3 separate regions of the Homo sapiens genome follow, and all the other regions are linked to region 2. Evidence: promoter capture Hi-C in human tissues and cell types (Jung and others, 2019). All regions are on one chromosome and are shown on one strand. Each heading gives the region's core, a stretch centred on a gene start or on the middle of the fragment in contact. The rest is flanking DNA. Distances are from core to core; before and after follow the strand shown.

Region 1 (4,996 bases), core at 486-2,985, 38 kb after region 2:
CTCTCTTCTTGCTTGTAGAGTTTCTGCCGAGAGATCCGCTGTTAGTCTGATGGGCTTCCCTTTGTGGGTAACCCGACCTTTCTCTCTGGCTGCTCTTAACATTTTTTCCTTCATTTCAGCTTTGGTGAATCTGACAATTATGTGTCTTGGAGTTGCTCTTCTCGAGGAGTATCTTTGTGGCGTTCTCTGTATTTCCTGAATTTGAATGTTGGCCTGCCTTGCTATGTTGGGGAAGTTCTCCTGGATAATATCCTGCAGAGTGTTTTCCAACTTGGTTCCATTCTCCCCGTCACTTTCAGGTACACCAATCAGATGTAGATTTGGTCTTTTCACATAGTCCCATATTTCTTGGAGGCTTTGTTCATTTCTTTTTATTCTTTTTTTCTCTAAACTTCTCTTCTCACTTCATTTCATTCATTTGATCTTCAATCACTGATACCCTTTCTTCCACTTGATCAAATCGGCTACTGAGGCTTGTGCATGTGTCATGTAGTTCTTGTGCCATGGTTTTCAGCTCCATCAGGTCATTTAAGGTCTTCTCTATGCTGTTTATTCTAGTTAGCCATTCGTCTAATCTTTTTTTCAAGGTTTTTAGCTTCTTTGCGATGGGTTCGAACATCCTCCTTTAGCTCAGCAAAGTTTGTTATTACCAGTCGTCTGAAGCCTTCTTCTCTCAACTCGTCAAAGTCATTCTCCGTCCAGCTTTGTTCCCTTGCTGGCGAGGAGCTGCGTTCCTTTGGAGGAGAAGAGGCGTTCTGATTTTTAGAATTTTCAGCTTTTCTGCTCTGGTTTCTCCCCATCTTTGTGGTTTTATCCACCTTTGGTCTTTGATGATGGTGACGTACAGATGGGGTTTTGGTGTGGATGTCCTTTCTGTTTGTTAGTTTTCCTTCTAACAGTCAGGACCCTCAGCTGCAGGTCTGTTGGAGTTTGCTGGAGGTCCACTCCAGACCCTTTTTGCCTGGGTATCACCAGCGGATGCTGCAGAACAGCAAATATTGCAGAAGGGCAAATGTTGCTGCCTGATCCTTCCTCTGGAAGCTTTGTCTCAGAGGGGCACTGGGCTGTATGAGGTGTCAGTCGGCCCCTACTTGGAGGTGTCTCCCAGTTAGGCTACTCGGGGGTCAGGGACCCACTTGAGAAGGCGGTCTGTCCGTTCTCAGATCTCAAACTCCGTGCTGGGGGAACCACTGCTCTCTTCAAAGCTGTCAGACAGGGATGTTTAAGTCTGCAGAAGCTTCTGCTGCCTTTTGTTCAGCTATGCCCTGCCCCGAGAGGTGGAGTCTACAGAGGCAGGCAGGCCTACTGAGCTGCAGTGGGCTCCACCCAGTTCGAGCTTCCCGGCTGCTTTGTTTACCTACTCAAGCCTCAGCAATGGCGGATGCCTGTCCCCCAGCCTCGCGGCCGCCTTGCAGTTGGATCTCAGACTGCTGTGCTAGCAGTGAGCGAGGCTTCGTGGGCATGGAACCCTCTGAGCCAGGCGCGGGATGTAATCTCCTGGTGTGCCGTTTGCTAAGACCGTTGGAAAAGCATAGTATTAGAGTGGGAGTGTCCCGATTTTCCAGGTACCATCTGTCACAGCTTCCCTTGGCTAGGAAAGGGAATTCCTTGACCCCTTGCACTTACCAGGTGAGGCGATGCCCCACCCTGCTGCATGGGCTGCACCCACTGTCCGACAAGCCCTAGTGAGATGAACCCGGTACCTCAGTTGGAAATGCAGAAATCACCCGTCTTCTGCATCGCTCACGCTGGGAGCTATAGACTGGAGCTGTTCCTGTTCAGCCATCTTGGAACCTCCCCCCAGAATGTATTTTTTTTAATGATGTAACTATAGGCTGTCTACAAGTTAAATTATGTTTACAGATTATGTGATCTATATGTAAAAAACTAAGGATTCTACCCCCAAAAACCTGTGAAAACAAATAAATTCAGCAAAGTAGCAGAATACAAAGTGAACACACTAAAATTGGTTAGAAAAACAATAACAAAAATGGGTTGGATTTCTATACACTAACAGTGAACAATATCTGGAAAGGAAATTACAAAAACAATTTTGTTACAATAGCATAAAAAAAGAATAAAATACCTAGGAATTAACCAAGAAGGTGAAAGATTTGTACAATGAAAACTTCAAAACATTGCTGAAAGAAAATAAGACATAAATCAGTGGAAACACGTCCCAAATTCATGGATTGGAAGACTCTGTGTTAAGATGTCAGTACTACTCAAAGCAATCTACAGATTCAATGAAATCTCTATCAAAATTCCAGTGATGTTTTTCGCAGAAATAGAAAAACTCATTCTAGAATTCACATGGAATCTCAAGGGACCCTGAGTAGCCAAAACAATCTTCAAAAAGAACAAAGCTGGAGGACTCATTTCTTAATTTCAAAACTTACTACAAAGCTACAATAATCAAAACAATGTAGGACTGATTTAAAGACAGACATTGGCTAATGGAATAGAATACAGAGTCCAAAATGAACCCACCCGTACTTAGTCAAATGAATTTTGACTAATGTGCCAAGACCATTCAATGGGGAAATGACATTCATTTAACACATGGTGCCTGGAAATCTGGATATCCACATGCAAAAGTATGAAGTTGGAACCTTAGCTAACACCATATACAAAAATTAACTCAAAATGGATCAAAGACCTACATGTAAAACCTAAAAGTATAATAGTCTTAGAAAACAGGAAAAGCTTCACTACATTGGATTTGGCAAGTGATTTCTTAGATATGACAGCAAAGGTATAGTCAACTTAAGGAGAAGAGACAGATTGGACTTAGTGAAAATGTAAAAGTTTTGTGTACTAACAGACATTATGAACAGTGAAAAGGCAACTCACAAATAGGACAAAATTTTGCAAATCATGTATCTGATAAGGGATTATAATACAGAATATAAAGAGAACTCCTAAAACTCAACACCAAAACAACTCTGTTCAAAAATGGGCAAAGGACTTGAATAGACATTTCTCCAAGAACATATACACAAATGGCCATTAAGTACATGAAGAGATGCTCAACATCACTAATCATTAGGGAGCTACAAATTAAAATACAGTGAGATACCACCTCACACCCATTAGAATGTCTCCTATCCAGGCTGGGCGCGGTGGCTCACGCCTGTAATCTCAGCACTTTGGGAGGCCAAGGCAGGCAGATCACGAGGTCAGGAGTTCAAGACCAGCCTGGCCAACATGGTGAAACCCCGTGTCTACTGAAAGTACAAAAATTAGCTGGGCATGATGGCGTACACCTGTAATCCCAGCTACTTGTGGGGTTGAGACAGGAGAATTGCGTGAACCTGGGAGGTGGAGGTTGCAGTGAGCCGAGATTGCACCACTGCTCTCCAGCCTGGGTGACAGAGTGAGACTCCATTTCAAAAAAAAAAAGAATGTCTCCTATCCAAAAAACAGAAAATAACAAGCACTGGCAAGAAAGTAGAAAAATTAGAACCGTTGCGCGCTGTTATAGTAGGGATATAAAATGGTACAGCTGCTATAGAAAACAGCATAGCAGTTCCTAAGAAAATTAAAAATAGAATTACCATGTGATCCACTGATTTCACCTGAGGTACATGCCAGAATAACTGAAAGCAGAGTCTTCAGATATTTCTACCCCTATGTTCACAGCAGCATTATTCACCGTAGCTATAACATTGGAAGCAATCCAAGTGTTCATCAAAGGATAAATAGATAAACAAATGCAGTCTGTCCATATAATGGAATATTATTCAGCTTAAAAAGGAAGGAAATTCTGATATGTGCTACAAAATGGATGAAGTTTGTGGACATTATGCTAAGTGATATAGCCAGTCACAAAAAGACAAATACTGTATGATTTCACTTACATGAGGTACTTAGAGTAGTCTAAATAGGAGAGATTTAGGGTGGTTGCTAAAGGCAAAGGGAGGAAGGAATGGGGAGTCAGTGTTTAATAGGTGTCAAGTTTCGATTTTACAACAGGAAAACAGTTATGAAAATGGACAGTGGTGATGGTTGCACAACATTATGAATATATTTAATAGCACTAAACTTAAACCACTTAAAAGTGGTTAAGATGATAAATTTTATGTTATCTGTATTTTACAACAATAATTTTTAAAAATCATAATGCATTGTATGCCTGTTTGTTGATGTGGGATATTTATTATGGGATATGTATATCTATTGATATCTCATATCAATAAATAGGCATACAATGCATTAAGATTTAAATAATAATTGTTATATATAATGTTTATTATTTAAATCATAATGCATTACATGTGTATACATAATGGCTTAAATATGATTTAAATCATATTTTGGCAGTGTCTCAGCCTCTCCCAAAGTGTACAGATTATTACAGGCATGAGCCACCATGCCAGGCCAGAATATATCTTGGAAACAGTAAATAAGTAGTATGTATGGCAGGTAAAGACAGACAACTCAGTATGAAAATAGGTAAGCAATTTGATCAGACCGTTTGCACCAAAAATACTAACAAAATTCAAATGGTGAGTAAACAAATGTAAGTGTTAAATCCATTAATAAAAGAAAAGCAATTTTAAATCATTATGAGATTCCATAGCATACCTACCAGAATGGTGGGTATTAAAAAGAATATTAAAAAGACTAACCCTGCCAATTATTAGGATATGGAACAATAGATATTCTCATATACTGCTGATGGAACTGTAAACTGACAAAAATACTTAGACATTATCTGTAAAATTTGAAGATTCACATATCCCTAGGTGTGTGTGTATATATATATCCAAAGAAACATGTGCACATGTATATCAAGAAACACGCACAGGGGCTGGGTGCAGTGGCTCACGGCTGTAATCCCAGCACTTTAGGAGGCTGAGGCAGGCTGATCACTTGAGGCCAGGAGTTCAAGACCAGCCTGGCCAACATGGCAAAACCCTGTCTCTACTAAAAATACAAAATATTAGCTGGGCATGGTGGCGGGCACCTGTAGTCCTCACTACTCGGGAGGCTG
Region 2 (4,769 bases), core at 607-3,106:
CTGTCTTCTCTTTGTCTGTGAAGGACTCCTCAGAGTGTCTGTCCCACCAGGAGCTCCCCTTTTTATTTCCTAGTGTAGCTGTATATTCGTGCATTTATTTGTCTGTAATATATCTTGTATTATTTCAAGGGAGTTGGTGAGAGGGGAAGAGGGCACAAGGTCAGCTCAGTTTCCCCTCTTGAATCTCAGTACTTCTTTTTATAACTTCATCTGCCAGAATCATCTTCCTCTAGTCAGGTTTCACTTAGTTAGTTCATAGTCTGACTTGCCACATCACCTTTGTTCAACAAACGGCAGTCTCTAAAGTATCTTCATGCCAGCATACAAACCTTTCTTCAGCGTATATATACATTAATTGCCACAGTCATTTGAAAACCATTACTATAGGTTATTGAAATGACCTATATTTCATAGGTTACTGGAACAACTTTTTGAACAACTTTTTGCAATCTACTTTAGTTTTAGAAAAATTAACATGCAGCATGTAAAGAAGGACCAAATCCATTAGCTGATTGGCACCTGAAATCATAAAAGTCAATTCAGAGAGCAAAGTAGTATGTTGGAAGGGAATAACAACAACAGCAGGGGAAAGCAATATGAAAACCTGAACTGAGAGACAAAGTGAAACTAGAATTTGCTGAGTGGCATGGCAAGTGTGCTCTGATGGATATCATAAGTGCTCTGCAATGCATGAAATGTATACATTGAAATTTTCTTGCATTAACAATTGTATGTGCAGACCTTCCATCCTGTTGTGAGGAGTCAGGGCCTAGACCTCGAGGCTCTAGAGTTAAACTCTCATGAGGGTCTCAGGCATCCTGCTGTCCTGAGGCATCCTGAAAGCACTCACTTATGGGGCATTGCCTGATTGAGTGCTTAGGAGTGTGAATGTGCCAGCTGTGGCCATTCTGAGCACACCCCTCTCTCCCAGTATCCTCATTCTGGAAACTACCTCTCTTTCTTTTTTTCCCCCAAATTGACTCACTTTTACTTACCCAGAAATCTAAATAGATAGGCACAGAAATAAACTTACAGAGCTATTTGAATTTTGACAAAATCAGTATCTAAACAGTCTCACTACAGTGTTTAAATACATTTTAGGAAATGGTCTCTCAATACTAATTTTACTATTAATGCTTAGGCCCTCATTATTTTCATTGATATACAGAATTTTGCTTTGCACTTAATATTTGCTTTCATAAACAACTTCGTAATTGAGTGTTTGCCTCCTAGAGGTAAATTTTCTGGGATTCCAATCATAGTATCATTTTTATCAAGTAATTTTTTTCCTTCTAGCACTTACTGTGTTTATCCCAACATTAAATATTATTTATAAACCTTGATTAACTTATTTTTCTTCATTTAAAATTTCTTACCAGTTATCTTAAGTAAACTTTAAAAATATTAATTTAGAATTTTAAAATTCTACATGAAGTCATGAGATGTCTATTATCTATTTTCACTTCATTCAACAGATTTAAAATGAAAAATATTTTGAATTATTTATGTTCTTTTAGGACTTAAAAATTAATAATATTTTCAAACCAATTTATACTTCTATTGAACACATAATTCCACCTAAACATATAAAAATAATTTAATACTAAGTATACAAGGTCTGAAATACTTGGGAAGTACATCGTGAAAAAAACAAACAGAATAATGCATACTTTGAACTTTAAAAATCTATTAGTAACGAGCTAATTTACTCAAGAGTTAAACAGTTGTGAAATAAAATACCCAAATATTAAAACCATTCCACATGCTAAGTAGAAACTTAAAATTTAAAACTTTTTTACCTGGAGATCTAAACTAAGTAGGCTTTGCTTGGTGTCATTTAAGTCTCCAGCTGAAAATGAAACAAAATCAGAGCTTTCTTTAAAAACAAAGAAAGGACAGAAGGGAATGTTGAAAAGTATTTGCTGAACTTCTTAGTAAAATCTAAAATAACTGCCTCCCTTGGGGATAAATGCCTTTCAGTTCTTTGTGCAGAAAATCAGCCAAGAAAGTAACCAGGGAAAATGGTTACCAAGGGAAATATTTTTTTTAATCATAAGAAAAGTAGAAAACAGCAGTGGGTGTGGGGGAAGAGCATTTTGTTTGCAGGCTGAAAAGGCAGAGTTGGAAACACAAAAATGAGCTTGATTAAGAAATCTGTGGTTTTCATAGACTATTCGCATTAAAAATGTTAAAGTTTATACTAGCCAGGATGATGTCACTTGAGCTTTATCAGATTATAGGGATGATATTCTCGTCAGCTAAAGGCTGTGTATATCTGGAATCTATTTTAAATTGGATTAATAATATTTAACTCATCTGCCCACCCACCTCGATCTCACACACAATACTAACAAAACGACAACAACAAAAAAATGGTTACGTATTAATATCAGTGGAAATTATGTAACTTCTAACCATGAAATAATAGAAAGAAAATGTGAAAGGGAGCTGTGTGGCTCCTAATTACCTGTTACGCTGGCAAATTAGTTGTGTACTTTGGCCTCAGTTTCTTTATCTGCAAATGAGAAGTTAGAGACAGATCAGGATTCCAAGCGCAACCCTGCTGTTTATGAGGGACCTTGAGTAAGTTACTTAATGTTTCTGACCAAAGTTCACTCTTCTGTAAAACTAGGGTGATACCTTTCAAATTTTTCTGAAAATAAAAGGAATAACAGATATGAAGGTCCTAACTCAGTGCCTATCCTAGACTAGGTAATTTTAGAACTATTTTTTAAATTTTTTTTTTTTTTTTGAGACGGGAGTTTTTGCTCTGTTGCCCAGGCTAGAGTGCAATGTCGTGATCTCAGCACACTGAAACCTCCGCCTCCCAGGTTCAAGGGATTCTCCTGCCTCAGCTTCCCGAGTAGGTGGGCTTAAAGGCGCCTGCCACCATGCCAGATTAATTTTTGTATTTTTTTTTTTAGTAGAGATGGGGTTTCACCATGTTGGCCAGGCTGGTCTCGAACTCTTGACCTCATGTGATCCACCCACCTCGGCCTTCCAAAGTGCTGGGATTACAGGCATGAGCCACCGCACCTGGCCTGAAATTCTTATATCGTTATTTCAGGGGTCCAAATCATTTGGCAAAGAGGAGCTAAATATTTGTTTAAATGACGTGGTTAGACTGAATCAGGATTTTGTAAAATGACCTAGATAGACTGAATCAAGATAAGGGACTAAATACATAAGCCACTCAACTTCCTAAAAATAAGGAAAATGATATCTATTTTTAAAAATGTAAAACTAGCTGAGTGCAGTGGCTCACACCTGTAATCCCAGCACTTTGGGAGGCAGAGACAGGTGGATCACCTGAGGTTAGGAGTTTGAGACCAGCCTGGCCAACATGTGAAACCCCGTCTCTACTAACAGTACAAAAATTAGCCGAGTATGGTAGCACATGCCTGTAGTCCCAGCTACTCAGGAGGCTGAGGTAGGAGAATCACTTGAACCTAGGAGGCGGAGGTTGCAGTGAGCCAAGATTGTGCCATTGCACTCCAGCCTGGGCAACAGAGCGAGACTACATCTCAAAAAAGAAAAGAAAAGAAAAGAAAAAGATGAGTACAAATGAGCAAACACCATTAAACAGGCAGTTCATAGAAGAGGAAATGTCAGTGGTCAATAAAACAGAAGAGGAAGATTTCTCAATCTCAGTAACAGTCAAGAAAAGTAAATTAAAACAGGAAGGTTATTTTTTCACTACCATAGTGAGATGTTGCTGACAAAACTTTGGGGGTAGAAAAATTACCCAAATAATGCCAATGCTCAATCAAGCTTGAAGACCACTGCTAATCAAAAATCATGGCCTGATTTGAAATACATACATTGTTTTTTGGGGGAAAAAAATGTTGATGATATGCTGTGTTGGCCAGTGTGTAGGGAAAACAGAAACTCTCCTCTTCCTTGAGGACAGCTGAACAGTAGCTATGCTGTCTGTCCTACCATTTCACCTCTAGGAACCCATTGTAGAAACACCTCTTTCTGTACAAAAGTGTGCCTTCAAGGAAGTACTCTGAAGTACTGTAACCATGGATTAGAAAAAAAGTTAACCCAGTTGTGTATAGATAGAGAACAAAGTGGGCTTACCATAAAGCTATTTGGAGAAACAGAAGTAACTCCATTAATACCACCATGCATAGTTGTCCATGCTATACCAGGAATAAAGAGATTTTCAAAACTGTACATGTATTATGATCTTACCTTCTTTTGATGTATGTAATTTAGCATTTTACTAGAGAACAAATTGGAAGGAATAAACAACAAAATATTAACAGTAATTACAGCGAGACTTTTACTATGTTCTTTTATATTTTTATCATGTTTTGAGCTTTGTATAATCAGATAAGAATAACTTAAAAAGAATACAAACAATCAAAAAAGAAGTAACTCTTAAAGTAACAGCACTGAGGAATACCAGTAATTACCACGATGAGATTGAGAAGGTTGCAGAAAACCAAATTTTATAATTTCTGAGGTTCCTGCTCTAAAATTTTGTGGTTTAATGGACTGTTACATGAGTCCTTTTGCAGAAACTATTTTAACCACACTAGCACATGGAAAATGCTGGTATTATGGTTTCTCCTACCCCCTTTATTATTGCAGACATGATTATGTCCCAAAACTTGGTTCTGACAACACTCTGCAGGAATGTGGTATTGGTCACCAAACAACATGAGCAGAGTGAGCATTACCCGTGCCACAGGGCCATCTGCCTATGAAGATTTAGACTCTAGGACATTTCTTTCAGGTGATATTTAAGTAAAATCACCTTT
Region 3 (4,419 bases), core at 1,147-3,646, 36 kb before region 2:
CTCATGAATAGATTGATATCCTCTCTAGGATCAGGGGAGTGAGTAAGTTCTTGTTCTATTAATTCCCATAAGAGCTGGTTGTTTAAAAAAAAAAAAAAAAAAAGAAGTCTGGCACCTCCCCATTCTTTTTTGCCTCCTCTCTTGCCATGTAATCTCTACACACTCCATCTCCCCTTCCACCATGAGTGGAAGCAGCCTGAAGGCCCTCACCAGATGCAGATGCCAGTGCCGTGCTACTTGCACAGCCTGAAGAACCATGAGCCAAATAAACCTTTTCTCTTTATAAATTACCCAGCCTTGGGCATTACTTTATAGCATCAGAATTGGACTAAGACATATATAGAGAGAAAACTGCCCTTTTGTGTAATAATTTGTATAATAATTATGGATGGGGATGGGGAAATATGTATATGTATGTAGGCTTTTGTTTGCAAAAATAAATACTGGAAGGATAAACTAGAAATTTAAAAATTTAACCTATGGGAAGGATCATATAGTGTATAAAAGACAATCATAGACGTTGGGGGAGGGATAGCATTAGGAGGTATACCTAATATTAAATGAAGAGTTAATGGGTACAGCACACCAACATGGCACATGTATATATATGTAACAAACCTGCACGTTGTGCACATGTACCCTAAAAGTATAGTAAAAAGAAAATATATATATATTAAAAAAAGACAATCATAGAAGTAAGACTTCTCTTAATTCAACTTCTTACACAGTTTTGACTTTGGAATTAAAAATATTTAACACAGTCAAAAATAATATTAATTCAAAAAGAAAAGAGCAATTTCTAAAAACCAAAAATAAACTAAATAACATGTCTGAATATTAAGTTGTTGACATATTACAGAGGAAACCACTGTATTTCAGCTGTACTTCTTTAGTGGAACTTATCCTAAAGACAAATAGAGCTACCAAAAAATAATAAACTTCAAGCTTTTATTATGAGCAGTAATAATGATGTCATTTTGAAACAATTGTTTACATATTGTAAGATCATCCAAGTTAATATTGTTGGGAACCTAGATTTTCAGTGTAAGAGAAACAAGTTTTAATAAAAGGAATTAATATTCAATTATGTTAAATTTGATTTGGGAATGTCAGTCTGAACTTACTTTCTTTTCAAAATACGGAATTTCCTGGCAGTCCACTGAAAGGCCTCAAAACAATAGCAACACAATTGAAAGGACCACGTCTCGTTCCCACTTGGGGCTTCTCAATACTATTCCCCAAAGAAAGAGGCCAAGCTCTTTGGAGGAAGGTCTGCAGTAGGTAATGCAGAAAGTAAGCCTGAGGCCCACGTGTGCCCAAAAGCAAGTGAGCAGACACAAGAGCCAGTTTGAATGGCGACCATTGTCCAGATGACTGCAATTGATTGAAACATAACTGCTTACATGAAAGCCTAAGTATATATTGATTCACCAGAAAAAGAGAGAACCCTAAAACAAAATAAAGCAAAAACATTCAGGCTCCAACTTCTTACTCCCACTGGTGGTTTAAAGGAAAGAACTGAGCTTTTTTCTTTCCTTTCAAAGTGACAAAGCAGCCCTAGTTGATGAGCAAAAAATTTTTTACAGAGGAATTCCAGCTAATGAGCATGAGAAGCATGGCAAAAATAGAAATTCATCATTTTGTTACCTCTAATGAAATAAGAATTCAAACAACATTCATCTGTGAGTGAAACCATTGGTTCAATGATGGAGGAGTAAATTTGTCTTAGGAGATACCAGGCTGTGACCACTTCAATCCAGTGATCAATTTTAGAATCAAAAAAGGTGGGACAAACATTAGACGCCTTCTGATGCAATGCAGTATGAAGCATATGGCACAACCTGTGAAGTATTTTTGCCAAAAAATTTTGAAACTGAATTTTACAAAGTCTTCCCAAACCCCCATCTCTTCCTCCAGTACCTTTAAAAACACGAACTTTTCTGTGTTTTTGTTTTGTCTTTGTAGGCATTTAGTTTATTTGGACTTTTAGAGAAGGGGAAAGACTAAGAGGCATAATTCTCAGGGACAGAACAACAAGGTTATTGTCTCCCTCACTGCCAATGATAAAGACCTTACTAACAAAATATTCTGGATTAATTCTCAAGACACTCATGCCATCTAGGCAGGAGTGATGATTCAGTATATAAGCTGAACACATGCAGAAAAATGTGTTCCCAAAAGTAGGGAAAGTGAGTCTTAATAAATGTATTCAGAAATCTGACTTCAGAAAAAACTAGATAGAAGCAGTTTTAATTTTAGCATATATTTACGTTTTATGCTTTATAGATTAGTTTTATTTATTTATACATGGAGGTAGGAGTAGTAACATAATCTATTGCTTTGAAGACTCATTTGAACCTCTCTCTAAAGTTCTAAGTGTTATATATAATAATCTGTTAATCTTTTTTTTGAGATGGAGTCTCACTCTGTCACCCAGGCTGGAGTGCAGTGGCACCATCCCGGCTCACTGCAACCTCTGCCTCCCAGGTTCAAACAATTCTCCCACCTCAGCCTCCTGAGTAGCTGGCATTACAGACACGCACCACCACGCCCTGCTAAGTTTTGTATTTTTAGTAGAAACGAGGTTTCACCATGTTGGCCAGGCTGGCCTCAGACTCTTGAACTCAGGTGATCCGCCCGCCTTGGCGTCCCAAAGTGCTGGAATTACAGGCGTGAGCCACTGCACCTGACCAAAAGATGTTTTAACTATGGAAATTTATAAACATGTGCAAAAGTAGGAAAAGCTTATAATGAATCCTCACATACCTGTCATCCACCTTTGGTAATTACTAACATTTGCCAATCTTGTTTAATCCAACCCCTTAGCACCATTTTTTTTTCCCTTAACGTAAATCCCAGAGATCATGTCATGGTTGTTTTATCATATATTTTGCCAACCAAAATTTAAACAGATACTTGAAAAAGCCAAAATTTACCGTATCTTGTTGTTGTTCAGCCTCAGAAAATGTAGTGCTTTCATTTCTTGTATCCCAGGTGGTATAGATTTTAAGTCATTGTGATCCAGAAATAATTCTCTCAGAGAATGATATGCCCCATAGAAGGAGACACGGTCCATGCCATCATCAGCAAGTTTGTTAAATGACAGGTACAAGTATTCCAGGCCTGGTTCCATGTGGCCAAACACATAGCCAGGGATCCGTTCAATCTGGTTCCCAAGGAGTACTAGGTGCAGCAAGGACTTGGGTAGATAGGACGGGACGTGATAGAGCTTGTTGTAGGAGAGATCAATGGATTCTAGATTTCTGCAGCAAAGAAAAAAGTAAACAGGGTAGGGACATCAGGATGGTGATCATCAGCTCTAAATTTTGATAAGGCCAGTCTCGATGCTGGTCCATTTTCCTATAAGCACCCAGTTTGTAGTGATGATTCCAAATAGGAACTTTTCCAGGTATAGCCAGCCCTAGTCTCTTGCACCAAGCTGCATGTCCTTACCAGGGTGCCATACTGCCTCCCAGCTATGTGAGTCCATGCGAGAGGAGCATCAAAGACTAGGAGGGAAAAACTCATATCCCTAGAGGCAATACTGAGGCCCAAAGACTAAAATATCTGTACGGTTGATGCGTTGAATCCAAAATGAAATCCCGTGAATCCCAGCATGCATCTAAATGCCTATCTGTAAAGTTGTCTCTGGTTCCAGCAAGGAAGTTTGGTTTGTTTTGGCTTGTTTTGGTTCCCCTTCCCCTACATTTTCATTCCACATTTGATTTGATGACCTGGCACACCTGGGACTTGAGGCGAGCCTGAGGGAATCTAGAAAATGCTGTTAATCATCTAGAAGATCTGGGGAACGTGGTGAACTCACTGGCTTGTTTCAGGAACCCCACCTGAGTCTCCTAAGGCTTCTGCCCCACGCCCTCTTTTCACCTGATGAAGACTTCTCTGCCTACAGTGGGCTCAGTGCCACATGCTGCTGAGCCCAATTGGCCTCTCCATCCTGCTTCTGAATGACACGTGTCCCAGGCTGTGCTACTTAGGCACATAGTTCCAGGACACGCAATCCCAGATCCCAGTTGTCTGCTGGATTTGCTGCAGGGCTTGCTTCTGACTCCCTCCCCCTTCACTGAAAGCTATAGCCAGAGGCTGCTGATTCTTGTCCAGGAAGACAGAGTCTACTTTTGGCCTGCACTGTTAGGCCAAGCATTCTTCAGTCTATTTTGTAAGAGTTGAGGTGAAGAAATAGTTTGGAGAAAAGAAGGCTGTGTAGTGTAGGAGAACAGGCCTGGGCTCTGGAGCCTGGTGCTTCCACCTAATGATGATGAGGAGAAGGAGTATGGCAGATTTCTTTCTCACTGTGTGCAGGGGAATAATCCTTCATTCAAACCTCCTGACAACCTGTGAGGTAGACAGAGCTAGAGTGGCATTTGACCACTAGTGGGCAGACCTCGAAGTCAGACAGCT

The links. Contacts are between HindIII fragments. The study calls those that stand out against the background at their distance.
Region 1: a contact is called between a fragment that was not itself captured here and the fragment with the promoter of ECM2 in region 2, in 3 of the 25 tissues and cell types used here (aorta, heart left ventricle and hippocampus).
Region 3: a contact is called between a fragment that was not itself captured here and the fragment with the promoter of ECM2 in region 2, in 2 of the 25 tissues and cell types used here (aorta and heart left ventricle).

Annotation. Positions count from the first base shown.
Region 1 is chr9:92,572,421-92,577,416 of GRCh38, forward strand. All of the region lies in intron 5 of CENPP (centromere protein P), which reads left to right. Among named protein-coding and RNA genes, the nearest start is that of ECM2, 39 kb to the left of the region's middle. The HindIII fragment of the contact is 4,400 bases long and covers 1-3,935 here.
Region 2 is chr9:92,534,134-92,538,902 of GRCh38, forward strand. ECM2 (extracellular matrix protein 2) reads right to left here and starts at 1,857. Exons shown (of 10, transcript NM_001393.4): 1 at 1,800-1,857. The region is part of intron 5 of CENPP (centromere protein P); the gene reads left to right. The HindIII fragment of the contact is 14,623 bases long and covers 1-4,769 here.
Region 3 is chr9:92,497,791-92,502,209 of GRCh38, forward strand. All of the region lies in intron 5 of CENPP (centromere protein P), which reads left to right. It overlaps ECM2 (extracellular matrix protein 2), which reads right to left. Exons shown (of 10, transcript NM_001393.4): 9 at 2,937-3,263. Among named protein-coding and RNA genes, the nearest start is that of ASPN, 17 kb to the left of the region's middle. The HindIII fragment of the contact is 6,472 bases long and covers 1-4,419 here.